Regions from separate parts of the Homo sapiens genome. Here region 2 is linked to region 1. Evidence: promoter capture Hi-C in 16 types of primary human blood cells and fetal thymus (Javierre and others, 2016). All regions are on one chromosome and are shown on one strand. The core of a region is centred on a gene start or on the middle of the fragment in contact, and the rest is flanking DNA. Distances in the headings are between cores, read along the strand shown.

Region 1 (5,657 bases), core at 583-3,082:
CCCAGGCTGGAGTGCAGTGGCGTATCTCAGCTCACTGCAACCTCCGCCTCCCGGGTTCAGGCGATTCTTCTGCCTCAGCCTCCCAAGTAGCTGGGACTACAGGCGCCTGCTACCACGCCTGGCTAATTTTTGTATTTTTATTAGAAACAGAGGTTCACCATCTTGGCCAGGCTGGTCTTGAACTCTTGGCCTCGTGATCTGCCCGCCTCGGCCTCCCAGAGTGTTGGGATTACAGGCGTGAGCCACGGTGCCCGGCCAGTTATTCGTATTATCTTTAATAGGCATTGAATTAGCTTTCTTTTAACTGAATACATTCAACATTAATCCCAGAGGTAGCATTGAGTTCAGCTGACACAATGTTTCAGAATCCAAGCCTTCTGCATCCTACTTTCAACCATTATTTTTTAAACCAGTGTATAAAAATAGTTGTTCTTTGCTCCAATAAAGACATTGGAAAATCCAAATTCATAAACTAGACAGGGTATGAGGGAGTATTAATTAGCATGGCAAACACCCTCCCTTTACAAAATAATCCACTGTCTCTTAAAAAGGCTAACAATGAACGAATGCTGGTATTAGTAAAGAAATCACTGGGCAAAGAAACAAAGAGCGAGAAAGCCACGTGAAGTCCCTGGAATTACAATAGAGATAAGCAGAACGATGGGCCTTGATTTACAACATTGGGACTTAAAGACAACTTTTTGGAACAAGCCACTGGGCACGGCCAGGAAAGGAACCTCCCAGTTGTAATCCATGCTGTTGTAAGACTGTGTGCAAAGAATGCAGGGGTGGAGGGAGAATTGGGATCTACCTGGGTTTCTAAATTTTCCCGGGTTTAATTTACTCGTGCATTCTGCTATGTAAAAGAAAACATATTTTCGACTAAAATCTCCTATCTTATCAACGCCAAGTTTTCCTGCTTCCTATTAAGCAACAAGGTTACAGCAAGTGTAACAAACTGAATGTACTTATTGATGATCTTTCCTGCTCCAGCCAATCCATCCTATCACCTTCAGCCTGGCTCCTACCCTGGTCTTCAGTTTACACTTGTGCCTCGTCCCTTATCAGCTCCCCATGAGATTCCAGGCTGCTATTTTAATACTCTGTTACTATCTTAAATCGGGTCGCACCCGTTCTTCTTGTCGGTGAGTGAGGGGCTGCGCTCCAAGTTGCGCGACCACACTGCGGGGAGTAAACGGAGACGGTGACTTGATTGCCACCCGCGCGCTTCACATCGGTGGGGCCGACCAGGCGCCCAGGGCGCACGCACAGCGCCCCTAAGTGGCCGCTCCGGGCGCCTTCTCCCTGCCCCGCCGCGTCTCGCCTGCGCGGGCTCCAAGCGCAGCCTTAACAGGCTCCGAAACTTGAATCAGCGCCCCGATCCCGAGAGGGCTCTTCCTTCGGCCCCATCACTCCCACAATGGAAGGGCGGCCGCCTCCGGAAGGCCGTCCGCCCCCGCGTCCTCGCACCGGCCGAGCCCCGCGCGGGCGCCGAAGAGGTGTGGGTAGCCGGGCGCCAGAGGGGTCGGGCCCCGCCTGCGCCGGAAGTCCGCGCGTGCGCGCTGGCCGGCCTGGAGCGCGCGTCCGGCGCAGAGGGGCGGCGGGGGCGGGGCCGCGGCCGCTCGCAGGGTGTCCCCGCCCCCGCCCCCCGGCGTTCCGCGGTCGCCGTGACAACCGGAGCGGCGGCAACGGCGGCGGGCTAGCAAGTCCGGCGCCGCCTCCCGGCGGTACTGCCAGCCAGGCAGCAGCCGCCCGGCCTCCACGATCTCCCCGCCTCCCGGCCCGCGGGGAGGGACGAGCCCGCCCTCCACCCTCCGCCCGCCCGCCCGCTGGAGAGTGAGCTGCGCCCAGCCGCCCAGCCAGCCCGCCGTTCTCTGGCCGCCGTCCGGGCGCGCGCAGCGAGCGGGCGCGACTATGCCAAGATGGTCCTGCAGGCGCGGAACAAGCACCGGGAGGCGGCTCCCAAGCCGCCCCAGCCACCCCGCGCCTCACAGTCGCCGCTGAGGGGGGCGTCGGACGTCGGCGCCGGGGAGCCGGGGCCCGAGCGCGCGCCCCTGTCCCCGGGGCGCAAGGGCGCCGCGGGCAGGAAGGGGCCCCGCGCCGAGCCCGGCGCGCCGCCCGCCGGGGGCGGCCTTGGGGGGCGCCTGGCCGCCCGGCTGCGCTGGGCGCTGGGCCTGCGGCGCGCGGGGCGCGGCCGGACCTGGACCACGCTCCTGTTAGGTGAGCAGCCCTAGCGCCGGCGCCGCCGGGACGCGGAACTTTGAGGCGCTGGCCCCCTCCCCTCCCCTCCCCTCCCCTTCCTTCCCCTCTCCTCCCGCTTCCGCCGCGCCGAGCCCCGCCAGCCGGACCAGCCAGTTTGCAGCCCTCTCCGACTTTTTCTCTGGGACATTCTTACCTTCTCCTCCCCGCAACTCCCTGGCTCAGCTCTCCTCGCACGCTTCCCACCCGCGCTCTGCCTGGGCTTTAAAAGAATGGCCCGGGGATCAACAGCTGCCCGGCCTGGCCGCGGGCAGCAGGTCTGCGCTAACGAGACTTGAGCGCTGCTGATTGGTACGACTGGCCGCCTTCCCGTTATCTCGGCCTCTGACCGCCAGGATGGTTTGCTTTGGCTTGGAAACGATTCCGTGGAGCTCAAAGCAAACGCACGTTCCATGTCGTAGAGAGTTGCTTAAACTTATAATTAAATTTTAGCGTACTTTTTTCTTCCTGGCCGCAAACGCCGCTGGTGGCACTTTATTTGTGATTCCCCTCGACACGTCACTTTCTAGGTTGTGTTGTGTTTGGGGCGCCCGAGCCTTAATCCTCCCTGCTGCCCTTGGAACCTTTGGTGAGGAGGGCTCTCCTCCCCTCCCTCTGCCATTTACCAAATGGATGATGTGTAATGATGTGCTGAAAAAAAAAAACAAAGTTGACGCATTCGTATGTTTCGGACTGACTTCAGGTTTCCTCTGTTTCCTGGTTGAATTTTGATAAGGCAAGTTGTAGCAGTTTGGATAACAGGCCTAATTTTTCTAAGTCAACTAGTGAAATGCTGTTACATTGCTTTTTTCTATATGCCTCAGTGGGCTTTTCGCTACTGAACTATTTAATTACTGTTGATTTATCCCTTAGTATATTTTCAGATTCCCTTGGTGACTCAAAGTTCCCTTAGCCAGGAGTTGGGGTCCAGTATAAGTCAAGGAATAGGACACAGCAAATTGGCTTCCCCTGAGATCACAGCCACAAATAAAAGCCACTCAGTCATAAAAAGCCAGTCATCTCTGTATGTTTTAATGGGCTCAAGAAGGTTGTTCCTAGGGTACTTTTTTTCCCCCCATTGCCGATTCAAGCCTAGAAAAACCAAGTTTGTTTTTCTTTGTTTGTTTGTTTGTCTGTTTCCAGCACATTTCCCCCCGCCCCCTTTTTTTTTATCTCAGTAGCAAGCTTGAAAAGCTGGCTAGTATGCAGGTTAGAAAAGCTCACCTTGGGGAGGCAGCACGATACAGTGGATGAGGCAGAGCCTTCAGATCTAGTACACAGCGGTTCAGTTTGGTTTAAGTTTCAGGTTCCTTTGTGAGTCTTTCGTTCTCTGCTAGTGGGGGGTTATCACATGGCGAATTTACTCCACAGGGATCCACAGGATCTGTTAAGGATCATAACTAAAAGGTGTGGGTGATACATGGGAAGATACTTTGTGTTTAGAGCACTTGACACATTGTAGTTGTTGTAATAAAAGAAAGTGTGTGATGCTGATTTGAGATCTGATGACAGAATGGAGTTGCATTTTTATTGAATGACTAAACATTAACCACTTTGTAGTAAAATATAGAATGGCATTGCTTCTTCAGGGATGTTACAATAACAAATCTTAGAATAATGATATTTATTGCTATTTTCTGCATATTTTCTTTTTTGATTGCGTTTCCTTTGAATCTTCTTTGGATGGATGCATGACTTATATTTGGATGACTTACCTTTGGATTTAGTAATTCCCATACCTAAATACAGTTTTGTATTAATGTAACAGTATAGCACGTTGCTTGACTTGCCCCTTTGAGCATTGAAAGGAGGTACAGTGAATGTGGTAGATTGTATTTTTGGGTGTACCCTGGACCATGGCCATCAGATATATGGAAGTTGGATGAACAGACCCAGGTCTAGAGACTTTCTGTCCTTGTTAACCCTCTGCATGAGGCCCCAGGGCACCTTGAGAGATGATTCTGCTGAATGATTGGACCTGGGTTGCTTCTTTCTCTGGCTCTGTACCGTCATAAACTGATGTCAGACCTATTTCTTCCCCACGATTATGCCCTGCCACAGCGTCAAAAAACCACTCAGATCCTGCAGAGAGGAGCAGAGTTTAGACATTTTTGAAAGCTGCCTTATTTCCTGTTTTCTTCCCCCCTCCCAGAATGAGTGAGAGTTGAGCTGACATTATACAGTATTTCAATGTGGGACTTTAAAATAGCTGTTTGGTTTTCCACATTGCATTGCATATTCTTTTGTTCATCAAGAGTTCATTTGTAACTGATCAAAAAAAGAACAATTATAACAACTAAATATTAAGCTAGACAGAAATGGATTCATTTCTATTTAGAAAGTAATTTTGTAACTTAAAGCTCCGTGATAGAAACACACATTTTCAAGAGTTAGAAACTGTCTGGGGCTTTCCTCCATAGGTTCTAATCACTGATGAGGAACTCACTGCCTTCCAACATGGTCTTTCCACTGTTGGGCAGGGTTAAGCATTGTTGAAAAGTCTCTTTTCATAAATATATGTTTTTCTTATTGTGGGGCATTATTTGCTACTTATTTAGTGCTAATATTTGTAAAGAGGGGTTCTTGACATGTTTATTTTTAGAAGTTTCAACCTGATAGCTTCCTCATGCAGAGGTGGCTGTGACATAGTAAGAACCTTGACAATGTTTCCCAAACTTTTTTGACCACAGCTGACATTGTAACAATACATTTTATATTAAACCTGTTCACACTTCCACAATGCAACTCAGTACATATATGCATAAGTCTATATGTCTGTTGGTCTATTTATGTATGCCAGTGCTCCGTCATGGAAACAATTGTGGTAGTAAAAGATACACCCATTAGACATGCAAACAAAGCATGTCTGTGGTGAAAGACTAACATGAGATACTATATACACAACAATAAAACAAGAACCTGAGTATGGGAAAAGTGGATGATAAAAACTACCTTTTCCCCCCTTTGCATTAATCCTGTTTGACTCATTCCCATTGCCCACCTGGTTCCTGTGGTCAATGGCAAGGGTACACCTGCTATAACCTGGTTCCTTATTGACAAGGCTTTGCAACCTCAGCATTGTGGCATTTTGGGTGGGATAATTTTTTTGTTGAGGGGGCTTTCCTGTGCACTGCAGGATTTTAGCAGCATCCTTGGCCTCCACCTACTAGATGCCACTGGTATCTCCCCAGTAGTGACAACGAAAATGTCTCCAGATTTTGGCCATTGTACCCTGGGAGGCAAAATTGTGTCATTTGGGACCACAGCTTTTATTCTCTACAGCTTACGAGAACCTTGAAGCCCATATGGTAGGAAACACTTGCGACTTCTTAGAGGCAGAAGTGGTCAGAAACTGGGTGGAGGCAGAGAGTTGAATCTAGCTGTTGGGGACTAGATGGGGGGAGCAATGTGGTGTGGTA
Region 2 (5,146 bases), core at 1,146-3,645, 2.1 Mb after region 1:
AGGCGACAGTAGCGCCGGGCAGGCTGGGAGCCCGCGGCGACCTGTGGAGGGGCCGGGGAGGAGGGCTGTGGCGGGAGGGGGCTCGGCCCTTTGTGGCTCGGCGGGTGGGAGGCGGCGGCCGCGGCATCTTTCAAACCCGAGACGCTTCCGCCGCGGGCGGGGGAGGGGCGCGGGCGGCCGGCGCCGCCCTCCGCACCCCGCGGCGGCCCCAGGGCGGCGGAGCTCCGGGCAGGTCCGCGGGGAAGGGGCGGCCCGGTACGCCGCTAGCTGGGCGTTTCCGGCCCCGGCACCGGGCGCCTCGGCGCCCGCGGGGCTCCCGGGCGGCGCCTTGGCCTCGGCTCGCGCCCGCCCTTACCGAAGTAAAGCTGTTTCCCTTAAAGACTCGCGACGTGTTCGCGACATGGTGGGCCGAAGGAGGACACCCCCTTCCTTCTGTATTCCCCCCGCGTACATCTGAACTAACCAAGAGAGGTCTAGACGAACAGAGCTCCTGTTATGGTCTATATCGACTTAAAAAAGAAAGCAGAAACTGCCCTTTGAAACGGAAAATTGTGTACGTGTTTACTTTGTGAAATCTTTAACTTCCTTGAATTCGACCACCTCCTTCTCCCTACGGATTGAACAACCGGGGAATAGAAAAATCGCTTAGTTTGGTGTGGGGCGGTTATTTTGAGTTAACATCTTTTTTTCCCTTGGGCTTAGCTATCTAAGAACTCTACCTGCCTCAAAAGGTAGAGGAGCGTCCATCCCACGGGCTACCACGGTGACCCCTTCCAGTGAAAATAGGAAAAGAATTCAAAATACAAAATGAACTTTAAAAGGGTGTGTGTGTGAACTATCTTCTGTGTCAATTAGCCTTATGAAGACGTAGGCAACAGGACTGGTCACGTGTTGTTTATACTTGAATCTGTACGTCGGGCTCACAGCATTTAGGCATTGAGAAACGAAACCCTATCAACGCTGTGCACTGACCAAAATGATATTTTCTTTTATCGAGGCAACTAATTAACAGGGATCTTCCCCCTCTTCCCTCTGAGTTGTACATTTTTGCCGAATTTGAGTAGTATGGGTCTTAGATCTCTTGTAATTGTGAATGACTTAGTTTGGTTAACCTTTGATAAGGACTTTTTTCCCCGACTTTTTTTTCTGATCTAAAGTAAATTGAAAAGCCAGTCGGTTGTTTTCTAATCTCGATGATGTGGAATTTTGCTATTCTTTCCATCTGGCTGATAACTAATGTTAAGCTTACTTCTTCACTTTGATCTTCTGTTGGCTTAGTGCTTATTGAAGCCCTTTTAGGTTGGGGCCTGGAATCCTCAAGAGGTTGTTTTCTGTCAGTAACTCGGGAGTGCTGTGGCCTTTCTGTTGAGCATGCTCTGTAGTCCACACGTTTCCACATAGTGGTGTTTTCTTTGCACAGTTTTGTAGGAAGACTTTATGAGTGCTGTAACTCTACTCCCCTTTTTGCTCTCATAAGAAGCATTATAAAATGTTAACTTATGTTATTCACAGGGCATGTAAGGAGATGGGAAGGAATAGAGGTATCAGTACATATGTCCATGCTCCTCCATAGATTTTCTTCTGGTTGGTAGAAATGTTGAGCTTTTCATTCCTAAACATTGAACATTGAATGTGCAAGGTGAATTCCTAGAAACTTGAATGCAGTCTTAAAAGCCAAATGATAACATTGGTTTTTCCAAAAATGTTACACATTTAGAAAAGAGTCCCCCTTCCCCTCTTCTCTTTGCCCACATTCCTAAGACAAGTAAGGCCAGGAAAAAGGATTGATCCTGGTGTCATAAAATATGAGTGAAAATTTCAAAGTCCTTTGTTAGCTTAATCTTTTCAGTTTTGTAGAGTTTGAATAGACCAACTGATACTTAAATAACTCAGTATTAGAAATGACAGGTTGATCTCAAGTAATTTTTTTTTGAGACAGAGTCTCTTGTCACTCAGGCTGGTGTGCAGTGTCACGATCTCGGCTCACTGCAACCTCCGCCTTCAGGGTTCAAGTGATTCTCCTGCTTCAGCCTCCTGAGTAGCTGGGATTACAGGCGCGCCCCACCAGGCCTGGCTAATTTTTGTATTTTTAGTAGAGATGAGGGTTCACCATGTTGGTCAGGCTGGTCTCGAGCTCCTGACCTCGTGATCCCCTCACCTCGGCCTTCCAAAGTGCTGGGATTACAGGCGTGAGCTACCGCAGACGGCCGATCTCAAGTAATTTTTTTTTTTTTTTTAAGAGACGGAGTCTCGCTGTGTCGCCCAGGCTGGAGTGCGGTGGCGCGATCTTGGCTCACTGCAAGCTCCGCCTCCCGGGTTCACGCCATTCTCCTGCCTCAGCTTCCTGAGTAGCCCACGCTGGGCTAATTTTTGTATTTTTAGTAGAGATGGGGTTTCACCGTGTTAGCCAGGATGGTCTCGATCTCCTGACCTGGTGATCTGCCCGCCTCGGCCTCCCAAAGTGCTGGGATTTACTGGTGTGAGCCATTGCGCCTGGCCACTTTTCCCCAGCTTTCTTAAGTCACTGCGCAGAGGTGAGAGGAAAAAGGAAAAGTGATACCCAAAATAAAAGGACATAGTATACTCATATGATTATTGTATCGCAGGTGGCATTGCCTTTATGTTCTTGTTTAATTTTTTAAAACTGAGATAACTTGTTAATCATAATATAGTACAGCTTGTACTTGTGACCTGAATTTACTTAGGGTGCTGAGCGTAATTAACCTGATGGAGCCATGTCATCTATCAGTATGGTTGGAAAGAGAGAACAGACCTAAGCTCTGAATGTGACTAGAGCAGAGGAAGCTATGCTGAAATTTTTTTTTTTTTTTTTTTGGGACGGAGTCTCGCTGTGTCGCCCAGGCTGGAGTGCAGTGATGCGATCTCGGCTCACTGCAAGTATGCTGAAATTTTTAAAACTTGATAGATTCTTCAAAAGGCCAGGTGTTTGTTTTTTTGGTTTTTTTGTTTTTTTTTGGTTTGTTTTTTAATTGATGCCTGTCACAACTCCAGAAAATTCTGTTTGTGTAGCAGTTGACAATCTAAAAAACAAATGGTCTTTTCCAGACATTCTCAACTGTCGTGGTTGTTTTGATAACTTGAAAGCAAACTGTTTCTAGCACCCATCTCTTGTCCTTCCTAAGGAGAAAACTATCTCATTGAAATAAAGAAAGGCTTGTTTTATGACTGGTGCCTTTCTGGACTCTCATTTAGTTTTTTACACTGACATCAGCCTCCTCAAGATTGGTCGTCTTTTAAGCACTAGTTTGTTTCATTATTTGTACCATCAAAATATGTGAGAAAAGGAAAAAAAAAGGAAAAATTATCTTAATATTTTAGAACACTGAATTCAGATTTCAAGTGTCAAATGTTTGCAAAAAAGTCCCAATATTCTCTGAAAACATTGGATTTCTCTTATGTAAAATACCATTTAGACAGAATGAAAAAAGAGAACTGTATTTGGAGTGCTGAGACCTTGAAATTGGAATCTTCGGACCTGGTGAAGGTGTGGAATCCAGGAGTTGGGAAAGTGCTGCAAAAGCTTCACCAGTGGGTGGGTTAATAAAAATAATTTCGAATATCTGTGTAGTGCTGTGTGTCAGGTACTGAACCAAGTATGAAATGTAATCCTAGAACAATTCATTGAGAAGAGAGTTGTACTTTTAACTACATTTTATAGATGAGCAAACTGAGGCATAGAGAATAAATAACTTAAAAAGGGCCACACAGCTATTAAGTTGCAGAACTGGGGCTTTAACCCAAGTAGTTTGGGTTTGTACTCAATTATTTTTCAACGGTTGACCTCCATGGAGAACGCCTTGGATCTTTTCCAACAAAAATTTTTAATCTTCTCTATTGACATTTGTAGCATTGGGAGATGCAGCACTCCCTAAGTTAGTAATGTACAATTTGAATGTGCTTCCTACAGGTGAATGATTTATAGCCGCACTGCCCCTCCTGGAGGGAGACCTATCATTCCTTCATTCCTACTATATAATTTATTTTATTTTTAGTTGGCAAATAATTGTATGTATTTGTGGGCTACAATGTGATGTTTCAATCTATGTACACATTGAGGAATGATTAAATCAGGCTATTTACATCTGTCACCTCATGTACTTATTTTTTTTGTGGTGAGAACATTTAGAATCTTTAGCAGTTTTGAAATACACAGTATATTATTGTTAACTGCGATCATCAACATGCTGTGTAACAGATCAGTAACACTTATTCCTCCTGTCCAATGGAAACTTTGTACCTACTACTGTGCTTATTGTAGCAGGCCTTGCTAGCAGCCTCCTTCCCATCTTTTTATCCTTTCTTCCTTTTTCATCCACAGCTCAGTTAATTGCTGATTGGTTTCTTTATCACATTCAATAGTTCTTTAATCCTTTATTCGTTCCTCAGTCTCTATATTCTGCCTGGTTAACATTGGAAAAGCTTGCTTTGCTTCTATTTGTGTTTCCAGGCTACTCAGTGGGAGGATGCTACAAAGTACACACCTCTAGGAATGAAAACTTGATTTCAAAGTGAAATTAGACATCTATCCCCCCTCATTGCCTCCCCCCAAAAAGCCAAAACACTGCCATCAACCTCTGACATCTTTAAAAGTATTTGGGATTTTTTAAAAATTTCAACATTTCATACTTTTAATCTTGGTTCCTTATCCTTTAATGTTAATAATCAGAATCTGTAAAACAATTTCATGGTCACTTATCTCTTTATGAGTATTAAAGTAGTATTTACTTTGTAAATTTTCTTTGCTGATAGACTTTCAGGCATGTTTTGCTGCTTATAGTGAGAAGTTAAACACCTTTTTAATACTGTTATTTTATAGGAAAGTTAAGTGAGGAATTCAGACAACCAACTTAAATTTGTTGCATAGAAACACAGTTGTCTCTTGGTTTCAGTGGGAGATTAGTTCCTAGGTCCCCTTGGGATATGAAAATCCAAGGACACTCAGGTCTCTGATAAAATGCCGTAGTATTTTCGATAACCTGTGCATATCCTCCCAATACTTTAAGTCATCTCTAGAAATAATATTTTGTGGGAAGAGTTTCAGATTTTTAAGTAGAATTGTATATGTTACTGTCGATTGCTAACTGATTTAATCCTGACAATCATTTAGTAACAATGTTTCAAAACT

Evidence for each region. The method cuts DNA at HindIII sites, captures the fragments that hold promoters and counts their contacts. A CHiCAGO score of 5 or more calls a contact.
Region 2: a fragment that was not itself captured here is called in contact with the fragment with the promoter of DPY19L1 in region 1 in 1 of 17 cell types (total B cells); the score reaches 5.9 in total B cells.

The regions. Positions count from the first base shown.
Region 1 is chr7:35,033,660-35,039,316 of GRCh38, reverse strand. DPY19L1 (dpy-19 like C-mannosyltransferase 1) reads left to right here and starts at 1,832. Exons shown (of 22, transcript NM_001366673.1): 1 at 1,832-2,220. The coding sequence starts at 1,923. LOC105375228 (a long non-coding RNA gene) reads right to left here and starts at 2,531. Exons shown (of 3, transcript XR_001745162.3): 1 at 2,396-2,531. RefSeq lists an enhancer at 993-1,222 and silencers at 1,273-1,942, 1,973-2,142. The HindIII fragment of the contact is 4,166 bases long and covers 1-3,425 here.
Region 2 is chr7:32,886,384-32,891,529 of GRCh38, reverse strand. The region is part of intron 1 of KBTBD2 (kelch repeat and BTB domain containing 2); the gene reads left to right. Among named protein-coding and RNA genes, the nearest start is that of KBTBD2, 2.8 kb to the left of the region's middle. RefSeq lists a silencer at 1-410 and an enhancer at 2,245-2,770. The HindIII fragment of the contact is 2,297 bases long and covers 1,247-3,543 here.